Regions from separate parts of the Homo sapiens genome. Here regions 1, 2, 3 and 5 are each linked to region 4. The links are contacts of gene promoters, found by promoter capture Hi-C in human tissues and cell types (Jung and others, 2019). All regions are on one chromosome and are shown on one strand. Each heading gives the region's core, a stretch centred on a gene start or on the middle of the fragment in contact. The rest is flanking DNA. Distances are from core to core; before and after follow the strand shown.

Evidence for each region. Contacts are between HindIII fragments. The study calls those that stand out against the background at their distance.
Region 1: a contact is called between a fragment that was not itself captured here and the fragment with the promoter of P4HTM in region 4, in 1 of the 25 tissues and cell types used here (hippocampus).
Region 2: a contact is called between a fragment that was not itself captured here and the fragment with the promoter of P4HTM in region 4, in 1 of the 25 tissues and cell types used here (heart right ventricle).
Region 3: a contact is called between a fragment that was not itself captured here and the fragment with the promoter of P4HTM in region 4, in 2 of the 25 tissues and cell types used here (IMR-90 fibroblasts and lymphoblastoid cells).
Region 5: a contact is called between a fragment that was not itself captured here and the fragment with the promoter of P4HTM in region 4, in 4 of the 25 tissues and cell types used here (IMR-90 fibroblasts, aorta, mesendoderm cells and 1 more).

Annotation. Positions count from the first base shown.
Region 1 is chr3:48,782,279-48,784,978 of GRCh38, forward strand. It overlaps PRKAR2A (protein kinase cAMP-dependent type II regulatory subunit alpha), which reads right to left. Exons shown (of 11, transcript NM_004157.4): 5 at 708-814. Among named protein-coding and RNA genes, the nearest start is that of PRKAR2A, 64 kb to the right of the region's middle. The HindIII fragment of the contact is 6,575 bases long and covers 1-2,700 here.
Region 2 is chr3:48,839,590-48,842,289 of GRCh38, forward strand. The region is part of intron 1 of PRKAR2A (protein kinase cAMP-dependent type II regulatory subunit alpha); the gene reads right to left. Among named protein-coding and RNA genes, the nearest start is that of PRKAR2A, 6.9 kb to the right of the region's middle. The HindIII fragment of the contact is 5,871 bases long and covers 1-2,700 here.
Region 3 is chr3:48,752,657-48,755,356 of GRCh38, forward strand. All of the region lies in intron 9 of PRKAR2A (protein kinase cAMP-dependent type II regulatory subunit alpha), which reads right to left. Among named protein-coding and RNA genes, the nearest start is that of IP6K2, 37 kb to the left of the region's middle. The HindIII fragment of the contact is 7,790 bases long and covers 1-2,700 here.
Region 4 is chr3:48,988,932-48,991,631 of GRCh38, forward strand. It overlaps P4HTM (prolyl 4-hydroxylase, transmembrane), which reads left to right and starts at 1,310. Exons shown (of 9, transcript NM_177939.3): 1 at 1,310-1,679; 2 at 1,902-1,983. The coding sequence starts at 1,326. It overlaps LOC124909376 (a long non-coding RNA gene), which reads right to left and starts at 941. Exons shown (of 2, transcript XR_007095903.1): 1 at 617-941. RefSeq lists enhancers at 30-593, 594-1,156, 904-1,063, 1,721-2,282 and a silencer at 1,174-1,553. The HindIII fragment of the contact is 19,056 bases long and covers 1-2,700 here.
Region 5 is chr3:48,804,820-48,807,519 of GRCh38, forward strand. The region is part of intron 2 of PRKAR2A (protein kinase cAMP-dependent type II regulatory subunit alpha); the gene reads right to left. Among named protein-coding and RNA genes, the nearest start is that of PRKAR2A, 42 kb to the right of the region's middle. The HindIII fragment of the contact is 5,640 bases long and covers 1-2,700 here.

The sequences.
Region 1 (2,700 bases), core at 136-2,635, 210 kb before region 4:
AGGGCAGTGTATTCATGAGTAAAATCAGGCTCAAATACAAACATTCAAATGACTATAGTACCATGGCTAATTCTTCAAGGAATCAATTCACTTGACACTGGCAAATAACATGTTTATAAAGCACACCCTGCACTCCTTACTAACTGTAAAGGAGACTTTCTTTTTTTTTTTTTGAGATGGAGTCTTGCTCTGTTGTCCAGGCTGGAGTGCAGTGGCGGGGTCTCAGCTCACTGCAACAACCTTTGCTAGGATTACAGGCGTGAGCCTCCTAGGTTCAAGTGATTCTCCAGCCTCAGCCTCCCAAGCAGCTGGGATTACAGGCATGCACTGCCACATCCGGCTAATTTTTGTATTTTTAGTAGATACGGGGTTTCACCATACTGGCCAGGCTGGTCTCAAACCCCTCACCTCAAGCGATCCACCGGCCTTGGCCTCCCAAAGTGCTGCAATTACAGGCATGAGCCACTGCGCCTGGCCTAAAGGAGACTTTCTACTCTAAATGATTGCTCTTCAAATATGAGTTGTGCTGAGGACTCAGGACAGCACTGGTAGAGAGGGACAAGCTGTGGACTCTCACAAGGCTTTGGGAAGCTTGTTCACCTGGCCCTTAGCCTCTCTGGGCTGAATACAGAATAGGATAAAGCATCTGCCCTGAGTCATGAATCCGATTAAGTGTGGCCACACAATTTCAAAGCTCCATCTCCTACCGTTCTATGACATAAAAGTTGTCTCCATCATCTCCTTGGTCAATGACATGCTCATCAGCTTTGACTATCCTTTCAAACATGGCATCGAGAACTTGAGAAAGCTGTTCCTGCAGGGTATGCACAAGAAGAAAAAAATAGCCTTTACATATGCTGAAAAAAAGCAGTGACCATAATTATCTCAATTTGTGACTATGTAACAGAAGTCCCCACATTCAAGCAGAAACCTAAAGGTTGTCTGAAACAAATGCTTTCCTGGGACCATTCAGCTTTGCACCTCCATGTACCTCAGCAGACAGCAAACTGGCAAGTCTTCTGAGGCAGTATTGTTTTGAAAAAGCTTCCCAAAATTTACACAAAAATATTATCTAAATTATGGTCCATGTTCTCCCAGCCACACCCACATGACTGTCACCTGCCTGATGGCTCCACTATGTCATGTGTAAAGTCATATGCTCCCACCTTCCTACAGCTGTTGACCTTAACAGGAGCATCAGATCTAAAGGGCTGCTATGGCCTTAGAGGTTATCTTTTGGAACAGCACAACTTTTGACTAGCGAAACACGTCACTTAACCTCACTGAGCTTCAGTATCTTGTTTGTTTTTTTTTGTTCTGGAGACGGAGTCTCACTCTGTCACACAGGCTGGAGTGCAGTGGTGTGATCTCAGCTCACCACAACCTCTACCTCCCGAGTTCAAGCGATTCTCCTGCCTCGGCCTCCTGAGTAGCTGGGACTACAGGCCTGTGCCACCACGCCTGGCAAATTTTTATATTTTTAGTAGAGACAGGGTTTTGCCATGTTGGCCAGGCTGGTCTCGAACTCCTGACCTCATGTAATCCACCCACCTTGGCTTCCCAAAGTGCTAGGATTACAGACGTGAGCCACCACGTCCGGTGAACTCCAGTTTCTTCATATGTAAAAAGGGTATAACAAAGATTCCAGGTCATCAATTTTTATGACCAAAGGAAAAAAACCTAGGAAAGTATTTATGAAACAACAGATACTCAATAAATGAGATATATTATAAGACAGCTAATATTGCTTCATTTGCATACAGCACATACAATTACTTACAAATATTGCCTGCCATAACCAGACATCAACTATGTCAATAAGTATAATGAAAAGAAAATAATACTATTAAATTCTAATGAAACAATGGTCTCAGTCTGGGGCCAGCATCCCTGTCAGGGAGATCAGTAATTATTAGGAAGTCACTAAAGAATACCAGGTTCAATTAAAAAAAGAGACTTTCTCTTTGGAGAAATGTAGACTGAAGACCTGAAAAGAGAATAATTTTATGACTGCATAATTCCATGTGATTTTATGTTCTATCAGAGTGACTGTACTACCAAGATAATTGAGTATCACCAAAAAGTGTATTTAGTTCCACGTGCGTTGAATACTGTATAAGCTAACAAATACTAAAAAGGATGGCTTGCAACTGACGTGTTACCCACACTGACTGGAATGTGAGCCCAGTGTTGCCAGAAATCTCCTATTTAAACACTGGCAATAAATTTAAATTTTCATGTTCAATACAGACCAAACACAGACATCTGTACCTAGCCTGTGGGTTGCCTGCTGGAAGCCGCTTGTTCTGAGTCACTTTTCTTCTTCTAGTCTGGACTCTTCAAACACATGTGTCATGAGATATAGAATAACAGGGGCGGAAAGGGAGCATTTCTAGGTTAGAGGAGACTAAAATAACAACATGACAACCAAATGAAATACAGTAAGTCCTCAATGTGGTTGATAGGTTCTTGAAAACTGTGACTTTAAGCAAAACAATGTATAGAAGGTCCTCAAATAACACAGTTATAACACTGATGAGGGGAAAAAAAGGTTTCATTATAGGTTGTTTTGCTTAAAGTTGCAGTTTCCAAGACTACCAACAATGTTGAAGTACTTACTATATGTGATTCATGATGTTAGGTGAAGACTTATTGTATGTGATTCAGGACTGAAAAACAAAACAAAAAGCTATACAGAAC
Region 2 (2,700 bases), core at 180-2,679, 150 kb before region 4:
GTCCTGTTTGATATTAAAGCTGTTATTAAAATAACAGCTAGTAAGTTTTTTGACTCTTTCCAATAGGATACAATTTTATAAACTGAATTGGTGGTTAGTCACAAGGACCTCACTAAGCAAAGCTTCCTTGCTATATACAGTTATTACATATGATACTTCTTGTTCTTTTTTTTATTGGCTCTGGAGTTGAAACATATCCTATTTCTAATTTAAGTAGTGTAGACTTATTCTAATGTCATTGGGTATACAATTCATTTTTTCTTCCTTTTTAAATTGTGGTAAGATGTACATAAAATGTGCCACTTCACCATTTTAAGTGTACAATTCAGTGTCATTAAGTACATACATTGTGCAACCATCACCATTATCCAACTTCAGAACTTTTTCATTATCCCAAACTGAAACTCTGTACCTATTAAACAATAACACCCTATTACACCTTCCCCCAAGCCCTCGGTTAGCTCTCTTCTACTTTCTGTCCCTATGAATTTAGCTACTCTGGTTACCTTCTGTAAGTGGAATCATACATTATTTGTCCTTTTGTATCTGGCTCATTTCATTTAGGATAATATTTTCAATGCTGTAACATGAATAAGAATTTCATTCCTTCTTAAGGATGGTCAGGTATGGTGGCTCATGCCTGTAATCCCATCACTTTGGGAAGTCGAGGCGGGACGGGTGGATCACCTGAGGTTGGGAGTTTGAGACCAGCCTGGCTAACATGGTGAAACCCCGTCTCTACTAAAAATACAAAAACTAGCCAGGCATGGTGGCACACGCCTGTAATCCCAGCTACTCGGGAGGCTGAGGCAAGTGAACTGCTTGAACCCAGGAGGTGGAGGTTGCAGTGAGCAGGATCGTGCCACTGCACTCCAGCCTGGGAGACAGAGCAACACTCGGTCTTATGTATATATATACCATATTTTGTTTATCCATTCATTTATGGATGTATACCTGGATACCTGGTTTGTTTTCACCTTTTTTTTTTTTTTTTTTTTTTTTTTTGAGACGGAGTCTCACTCTCTCGCCCAGGCTGGAGTGCAGTGGCACAATCTCGGCTCACTGCAAGCTCTGCCTCCTGGGTTCACGCCATTCTCCTGCCTCAGCCTCCCGAGTAGCTGGGACTACAGGCACCCGCCACCACGCCCGGCTTATATTTTGTATTTTTAGTAGAGACGGAATTTCACTGTGTTAGCCAGGATGGTCTCAATCTCCTGACCTCGTGATCCGCCCACCTCGGCCTCCCAAAGTGCTGGGATTACAGGCATGAGCCACAGGGCCTGGCCCACCTTTTTTTTTTTTTTTTTTTTTGAGACAGTTTCGCTCTTGTTGCCCAGGCTGGAGTGCAATGGCGTGATCTCCGCTCACTGAAACCTCCACCTCCTGGGTTCAAAAGATTCTCCTGCCTCAGCCTCCCGAGTAGCTGGGATTACAGGCGCACACCACCACACCCAGCTAATTTTTTTTTTTTAATTTAGTAGAGATGGGGTTTTACCATATTAGTCAGGCTGGTCTCAAACTCCTGACCTCAGGTGATCCGCCCGCCTCGGCCCCCCAGTGCTGGGATTACAGGCACGTGCCATGTTTTCACCTTTTGACTACTGTAAATAATGCTGCAATGAGCACTGGAGTATAACTATCTGTTTAACTCCCTGCTTAAAATTATTTTGGGTAGGCCGGGAACGGTGGCTCACACCTGTAATCCCAGCACTTTGGGAGGCTGAGGCAGGCAGATCACAAGGTCAGGAGTTTGAGACCAGCCTGGTCAATATGGTGAAACACCATCTCTACTAAAAATACAAAAAATTACCCAAGTGTGGTGGCGCATGCCTGTAATCCCAGCTACTCGGAAGGCTGAGGTGGGAGAATTGCTTGAACCAGAAGGCAGAGGTTGCAATGAACCAAGATCCCGCCACTACACTCCAGCCTGGGTGACAGAACAAGACTCTGTCTCAAAAAAAAAAAAAAAAAAAAAAAAAGGTGTTTTGGTTATATACCTAGGAGTGAAATTGCTCTACCTATGATAATTCTATGTTTAACTACTTTTTGAGGAACCACCAAATTGTTTTCCACAGCAGCTGAACCATTTTACATTCCCATGAGTAATGCACAAGGGTTCCAACATCTCCACATCTTGGCTATTTTCTGTTTTTAATACCAGCCATCCTAACAGGTATGAAGTATCTCATTGTATGCAATGTATTTTTCATTTATTATTTGTAAATAGAAATCCACCTTGTAGTGATTTCTATAATTATGTAGCGCAGCCACCTGAGACACCAAAAATACTTAAATACCAATAAAATAGGGTACAAAGATTTTAAGTCAACTCAATTTTGAAAAAGGTATCAAAGATGACAAAGAATGACGATATAATACAAAAACTTGTCACTGAATTATAAATTACCTTGGACAGTATGGCCATTTTCACTATATTGATTCTTCCTATCCATGAGCATGGAATGTTCTTCCATTTGTTTGTATCCTCTTTTATTTCATTGAGCAGTGGTTTGTAGTTCTCCTTGAAGAGGTCCTTCACGTCCCTTGTAAGTTGGATTCCTAGGTATTTTATTCTCTTTGAAGCAATTGTGAATGGGAGTTCACTCATGACTTGGCTCTCTGTTTTTCTGTTATTGGTATATAAGAATGCTTGTGATTTTTGTGCATTGATTTTGTATCCTGAGACTTTGCTGAAGTTGC
Region 3 (2,700 bases), core at 48-2,547, 240 kb before region 4:
GCGCCTTGAACAACATTTTACAGTGACAAAATCCCCCATGCCCCCCACATTTTTTTTTAAGAGACAGGGTCTCACTCTGTCACCAAGGCTGGAGTTCAGAGGAATGATCACAGCTCATGCAGCCTTCAACTGTTGGCCTCAAGCAATCCTCCCATCTTGGCCTCCCAAAGTGCTCGGATTACAGGAGTGATTCACTGCTCCTGGCCAACAAATTTCTTTTTAAGTACTATTTGTACCTTAAGTTAGTGGTTCCCTCCTCCTTTTTTTTTTTTTTTTTTTTTTTTTTTTTTTTTTGAGATGGAGTCTCGCTCTGTCGCCCAGGCTGGAGTGCAGTGGCGCAATATCCGCTCACTTCAAGCTCTGCCTCCCAGGTTCATGCCATTCTCCTGCCTCAACCTCCCAAGTAGCTGGGACCACAGGCGCCCGCCACCACGCCTGGCTAATTTTTTTGTATTTTTAGCAGAGACAGGGTTTCACCATGTTCGCCAGTATAGTCTCCATCTGCTGACCTCATAATCTGCCCGCCTCGGCCTCTCAAAGTGCTGGGATTATAGGCACTCCCCCCTCCCATTTTTTAAAATAAGAGTTAAGTAACTAAATTTAAGATAATATACTACATTATATTAATATCTAGAGGTTTTTTTTTTTAACAAATCCAACTGCTAACCAAAGTGATAATTTAAGTAAATAATTGTTTAGAATTTATTAGTAAGAATTAGTCTCAATCTCTAAGAACCACTTTATGTTGTAGGCAGAAAGATAATTTCCTTTTTGGTTAATTTTTAAAAGAAACAAAACTGCTACACTAGCTTACACGGTTTGACCCTTCTTCCTTCTACACTTCTGCCCTGTTGCTCTGAAGTTGGTCTGTTTCATCTGAGCCAACTTTCCCTTTCCAATTTCAGTAGTATTCTCTGGAGTTGCAGCCATATTCGTGCCCACTTAGTCCCTTCTCTAAAACAGAAGGGACTTATCACACTGTCACATACACACCAGCTCCCGTATTACGCAGGTTTTCTCGCAATGCACATTCTGATTCAGTAAATCTGGGGAAAAGCCAGGACTCTGAACTTCTGACAAACCACCCATCCCCAATATCCCAGTGCCATGCTGCTGCTGATCTTATGCACCTAACACTATGCTGTGATCATAGCAGGTGTCAATGAATATCTGAGAAATCTACAAACATCACTAGTCCAAAAACTGTAAGTAAAATGACACAGACATTTCAAACTATTGTTTTCTTTTTTTTTTTTTTTTGAGCAGAGTCTCACTCTGTTGCCCAGGCTGGAGTGCAGTGGTGTGATCTCAGCTCACTGCAAGCTCTGCCTCCTGGGCTCATGCCATTCTCCTGCCTCAGCCTCCTGAGTAGCTGGGACTACAGGTGCCCGCAACCACACCTGGCTAATATTTTTTGTGTTTTTTAGTAGAGACGGGGTTTAACCATGTTAGCCAGGATGGTCTCGATCTCCTGACCTCGTGATCCGCCTGCCTCGGCCTCCCAAAGTGCTGGAATTACAAGCGTGAGCCACCATGCCAGGCCAAAACTATTGTTTTCAGTTGAAACAACAGATCTACTTTTTTCTTTTTTTTTTTTTGAGACAGAGTTTGGCTCTTGTTGCCCAGGCTGGAGTGCAATGGTGCGATCTCAGCTCACTGCAACCTCCGCCTCCCGGGTTCAAGCGATTCTCCTGCCTCAGCCTCCTGAGTAGCTGTGACTACAGCTATGTGCCACCACGCCCGGCTAATTTTGTATTTTTAGTAGAGATGAGGTTTCTCCATGTTGGTCAGGCTGGTCTCAAAGATCTACTTTTAATTAAGAATCAAGCTATCACATGGGCGCCGGTGGCTCATGCCTGTAATCCCAGCACTTTGGGAGGCAGAGGCAGGAGGATCACCTGAGGTCAGGAGTTCCAGACCAGCCTGGCCAACATGGGGAAACCCTGTCCCTACTAAAAGTACAAAAAATTAGCTGGGCTTGGTGGTGGGAGCCTATAGTCCCAGCTACTTGCGAGGCTGAGGCAGGAGAATCGCTTGAACCCAGGGACGGAGGTTGCAGTAAGCTGAGATCACGCCACTGCACTCCAGCCTGGGCAACAAGAGCGACACTCTAGCTTAAAATAAAAAAGAATCAAGCTACCTTCAGCTACTCAGTAGGGTGAGGCACGAGAATCGATTGAAACTAGGGGGTTGGAGGTTGCAGTGAGTTGAGATTGCACCACTGCATTCCAGCCTGGGCAACAGAGCAAGACTCACTCAAAAAAAAAAAAAGAGAGAGAGAGAAAACAAATCCAGCTATCTTACAGACAGTAATATTCTTCTTTTTCCATACTTATTAACTTTTTTTTTTTTTTTTTTTGAGACAGAGTCTTGCTCTGTTGCCCAGGCTGGAGTACAGTGGTGTGATCTCAGCTCACGCAAGCTCTGCCTCCCGGGTTCACGCCATTCTCCTGCCTTAGCCTCCCGAGTAGCTGGGACTACAGGCGCCCGCCACCATGCCTGGCTAATTTTTTGTATTTTTATTAGAGACAGGGTTTCACTGTGTTAGCCAGGATGGTCTCAATCTCCTGACCTCGTGATCTGCCCGCCTCAGCCTCCTAAAGTGCTGGGATTACAGGTGTGAGCCACCGTGCCCGGCTACTTATTAACTTTTACTCAATATATTTTGCTAAAGTTTTCATATTAACTCGACTTAGTATT
Region 4 (2,700 bases), core at 60-2,559:
AATAAAAATACAAAAAAAAAAATTGGCCCGCCATGGTGGCGCATGCCAGCTACTTGGTAGGCTGAGGCAGGAGAATTGCTTGAACCCGGAAGGCAGAGGTTGCAGTGAGCCAAGATCGCGCCACTGCACTCCAGCCTGGGCGACAGAGTGAGACTCCGTCACACACACACAAAAAATCTTAGAAGAAAGAGGTGGGCCTGCCCTTGGAGCCCCTGGCCTGCCTTGACTTGAGGGGACTAGAAAATGCAGACTATGCTTTGCTATGGGGAAGGGAGAGGAGATGGGAGTAGAGGTAGTGGGGGTCTTAACCAGGGTAGGGAGAAACCACCAGTGTGACCTGCCTTAAAAGTGTTGCTCTTGCCTGCAAGTCCACCTCGGGGAGGGGGGTCAGCTTCTGCCCTGAGGGCGTGTAGTAATCTCTTCCTGAGGATAACCAGCTCTAGAAGAGCAGGGATGCCTTGGCACTTGACCACTGGTAGGTATGTCCTCCCCCCACCCCCGTTTTTGGTGATAATCTGTTTAATTTTTCTCTGAGGTAATGGTGTCTCAGTTATGGAAGAGTCCCTTCCCGCCTCTTCACACGTGCCAGCTTTGATGCAAGGAGTGTTCCATATACCTGAGCACTGGTTCATTCCTGCGGGCTGCCATGGGGGGCTCACTTTCCTGATGCCAGGGCTCCTCCAGGATGCCCCCTCTGACGGCCTATGAAACCTTGCACATCAGGCAGCTTCTTCCTAAGGCCTGCCTGACTCCGGCGAGACTTCCCGGGAGATCCGGACCGACCGCGGAACCGAGCTCCAAGAATGCCTGCGAGGAGGCTGTGGGTCCTACCCTATCGCCGCTTACGCAGTCCCAGCCTCCGCGGCGCCCCCAAATGCCGCACTGTTGAGTCATCTCAGCGCTGCCTCCTCCGCGCTGCGCTCCCCACCCCCGCTCCTGGAGCAAGAAGATGCAGACGATACTTTTCCCGGAGGCAAGAGGGCGTCTTCACGCAGGCACCGAGAAGCTCCCACTAGTGTATGCCTTAATGGTGCCGCTCTTGTCCGCGTCTACGCTTGGGACCTTGGCTTCTGACTTGGAGAGTGTACAGCTCTGCCCGACGGCAACCCAGCTTGGGAAGAGAAGCCCCAGCGTGGGCTGGGGCTCAAGGCGCAGGAAGGCCGAGCCCGGCGCGGACGCAGGCGGCTCCGGGCGGGCTCAGCACCCCCAGGCACCGTCTCCTAGTGACCGCGGCGCTCGCGGGCCTGGCGGCCGTTGTCCGGGCGACTGCGCAGCGCGGGCACCCCCGCGGCCCCTCCCCTGGGCGCGCGCGCGACCTGGGTGCCATGGCGGCAGCGGCGGTGACAGGCCAGCGGCCTGAGACCGCGGCGGCCGAGGAGGCCTCGAGGCCGCAGTGGGCGCCGCCAGACCACTGCCAGGCTCAGGCGGCGGCCGGGCTGGGCGACGGCGAGGACGCACCGGTGCGTCCGCTGTGCAAGCCCCGCGGCATCTGCTCGCGCGCCTACTTCCTGGTGCTGATGGTGTTCGTGCACCTGTACCTGGGTAACGTGCTGGCGCTGCTGCTCTTCGTGCACTACAGCAACGGCGACGAAAGCAGCGATCCCGGGCCCCAACACCGTGCCCAGGGCCCCGGGCCCGAGCCCACCTTAGGTCCCCTCACCCGGCTGGAGGGCATCAAGGTGAGGACCTCCCTGCCCCGCCGCGCTCCAGGCCCTGCACGGCTGAGCCCGAGAGGACCGGCGCTCAGCCCGGGTCCCCACGCTGCCCCCGGCGCTGCTCTGCGTCGGTCCCGCGCGCTCCCACTCACTCGCCTGCTGTCGCTCTCCGGGCCGGGGCGACTTGGCCCTTCTTGGGCAGCGCGGTCTGGCGCCCCAGCTGCCCGCTGTGCGCCTTTTCCTTAGGTGGGGCACGAGCGTAAGGTCCAGCTGGTCACCGACAGGGATCACTTCATCCGAACCCTCAGCCTCAAGCCGCTGCTCTTCGGTAAGTCCGCCAGATACTCCTGGGAAGGGCCAGGGGCTGCGGTTTGGTGGCCACCTTGAGGCTCGTTGTGACCACGTGACCTCTATTTTGAAAATGGCTGCTTCAGAGCAGCCCTTCCAGAGGATTACCAAAGTGAAGGACCTTCCCCGTCCTCGAAATAGGGTAACACTCCCTCTTATCCCAACTCCCTGCAGTCCATTCTTCCATCACAGGGCTGGCAGGGTGAGCCTGAGGCTGGTGTCTAAACGTTTCATTGCACCTGTCTTCCGTGCCACCATTAATTCTGTCACCTTCTAGAACTGGGAGGAAGGTGGGAGACTGATAACCAGCTTTCTGCCGACCTCAGGACCTCTGGGGAAAATCCCACTGCCGAAGTGGGCCTTGTGGTCTGATGAGAAGCAGGCCGTCCAAATGTAGATAAACTGGTACCCCCCCAGCCTCCTCCACTGGAGTACCAGTCAGAGGCTCAGCTTTTGCTGCCAGCACTCTGAGATTCTTCTTAAGGTGAAGTCTTTGTTCAGCCATCATGGGCAAAGCTTTCTAGGGTGACTCCAGTTGGAGCCACAACATAGCTCATCGTTTCTGAGCTCTAGTTATGTGCTTGCCTTCATATGATTATTTCATTTAATTCCTGCAACCCCTCTGTGAAGTGGGTGTAGATCCTACTCAGGCCAGTGAGGGGGAAAGTTAGGGACAGAGAGCTGCTGTGGCTTGGCC
Region 5 (2,700 bases), core at 41-2,540, 180 kb before region 4:
ATATGTGGAAATAAGAAGGAACAACCTGGGGATTGTTAGATGACTAAAACAAGGAGAAGCAGTGGCTGGTAAAATATAATAATGTTAAGTTTAATTTTAATTTTTTTTTTGAGATAGAATCTCACTCTGTCACCCAGGCTGGAGTACAGTGGAACGATCACAGCTCACTGCAGCATTGACCTCCCAGGCTCAAGCAATCTTCTTAACTCAGCCTCCTGAATAGCTAGGACTACATGTGTGCACCATCATGCCCAGCTATTTTTTTTTAATTTTTTGAGAGATGGGGTCTCACTGTGTTGCCCCAGCTGGTCTCAAACTCCTAGGCTCAAGCAATTCTCGCACCTCAGTCTCCCAAAGTGCTGGGATTACAGGTGTGAGCCACGATGGCCAGCCATAATGCGAAGTTTTAAGAAGCTTTCAGGGAGAAGGGAGAGAGAATGCTCTGGAAGCAGCCAAGAGAATCAATAGAGACATTCACCCATTTCCTGTCAGTGTTACAAGGAAGGTAGAAGAGGACAGAGCCATTGTTTGAGAAGCCTACAGGGCAAGCCAAGCTTCAGCTACAGCTGGAAAGTGAAAGCTGCACTGAGAGAACAGGGTGAGAATTTGGCGGATTTAGCTGAAGACTAACCAAGAGTTCCAGAGGGTGCAAGAAAGAATCTTAGAGATAGCAAGGGTGGTACTTAGGATCCATGCTACCTATGGGCATATGCTCACCTCACCTATTGCAAGTTACTTAACCTCTGCTTTGTTCCCAGTTTCCTTGTCTGTAAATTGGGGATAATCATGGTATGGGCCTCACTCAAAGTGTTATTTTGAAGATTATATTCAACAATACAAGGAAGGCATTTAGAAAGTCCTTATAACTGTGCACCTGGCACACGGTCTGCACTTAAAAAATGTTACGTATTATTAAAGGATACTTTCTCTCCTGTATCATCCTATTGAATTATTTGAAAAATCTTTTATTTTCATTTAACATTTCAATGATATGAAAAGGTTTTAAATCCTAAGATTATAAAATCTAAGGAGGAGGGATAATACCATGTACTTGTCTGAGTCTTCTACAAGGTTCAAGATTTGAACAACAATGGCAGAGGGCCAAACAAACTAACACCAACTGTGACCTCAGGAGGAGGTATCACTATAGTCTCCATCTCCCAGACCTATCCTACAGATGTCAAGGGATTTAACTAATCTTTCAGAGGAAAAAAAGGTGCAGGGCAGACATGAACAAAAATGGAAGATAATAGCTCATGGGTATCAAACTAACCTTAATCCCTACTCTCAGGATATTGACTCTCTTAACATAACATATTCTTCAACCTCCTTTCAACAGATTTTTATGTGGAATGATAAACGCTTTCTGAAAACATAAATGAGCCGATTTTCTCAAAGACAAGGATTGAGGGATAGAAAAGCAATTCCTAGCCCTATAATAGGCCAGATGACAATTTCAAATCAAGAAACCTTCCTAAAACAAGGAAATATGAAAGAACATACCATTTGCCTAGCAATTTTAAAACACATTAACATTCCACTGTACTCCCAAATAAATTCCAGAGTTATCAAAAAGTCAAACACTTTAAGAAAAACTTTCATAAAATATATTTACCAGCTCTATGGAAAAAAGGGGAGCCTTCTCAGGAACAATCATTGTTTTTTTTTTAAAAAAGATGATGTGCATATTCAATAAATATTTACTGAGTGCCTATGTGTCCAGCAGTGTTTGAGGTTATCAGTCATATATTAACATCTCTAACTCAATTAAAAAAATAGCATAACCACCTAGGGAAATTTTGCATTGAAAATTTCAAAAGGTCAAAAACTTGGATAGAAAGTTTACCCAAACTTATTTTTAAAATAATATGGACTATACCAGATAAAAGGGCAAAATATTACCAAACTAGTACCATATAAGAAAATACAAATAGATTTCTCATATTTGGAAAGCATTCTTTTTTTTTTTTGAGACAGAGTCTCACTCTGTTGCCCAGGCTGGAGTGCAGTAGCGTGATCTTGGCTCACTGAAATCTCCACCTCCTGGGTTCAAGTGATTCTCTGCCTCAGCCTCCCAAGTAGCTGGGACTACAGGGGCGCGCTACTGTGCCTGGCTAATTTTTTTGTACTTTTAGTAGAGACGGGGTTTCACCATGTTAGCCAGACTGGTCTCAAACTCCTCACCTCGTGATCCACCCGCCAAGACCTCCCAAAGTACTGGGATTATGGGTGTGAGCCACCGCGCCTGGACAGCATTCATTTTTTTAACAACCAAAAGAAATGCCATATAAAATGATGTGAAGTACTATTTTACATTTAAATTCCATATTATTAAGATAATGGTGGAAAAGAGGCAGGTACAGGGTGCCTTTCTCCCAGTAGCCTAATCTGTGGACTCTCTCTACAAAACAAGACAGAAAAAGCCAAGGCAATGCTCAGTCTCTGACCAGAGAATGCCACTTCCAGCACCAAAACTGAGGAAATAATTCAAGTGGCTCAAAAAGGTATATGTAAGAGTTAATGGCAGCATAAGCCAGAATACCAGAAAAAGGAATATGAAAAATCATTTTTTGAAGCTGTAATTATAAACATGAAAAAACAGTAATGACATAAACGCAAAGAGACAAACTGTACCAATTATAGTATAAAATACGTACATACATACTCAGAACTTAAAATAAAAACAGAATAAAGAAACCA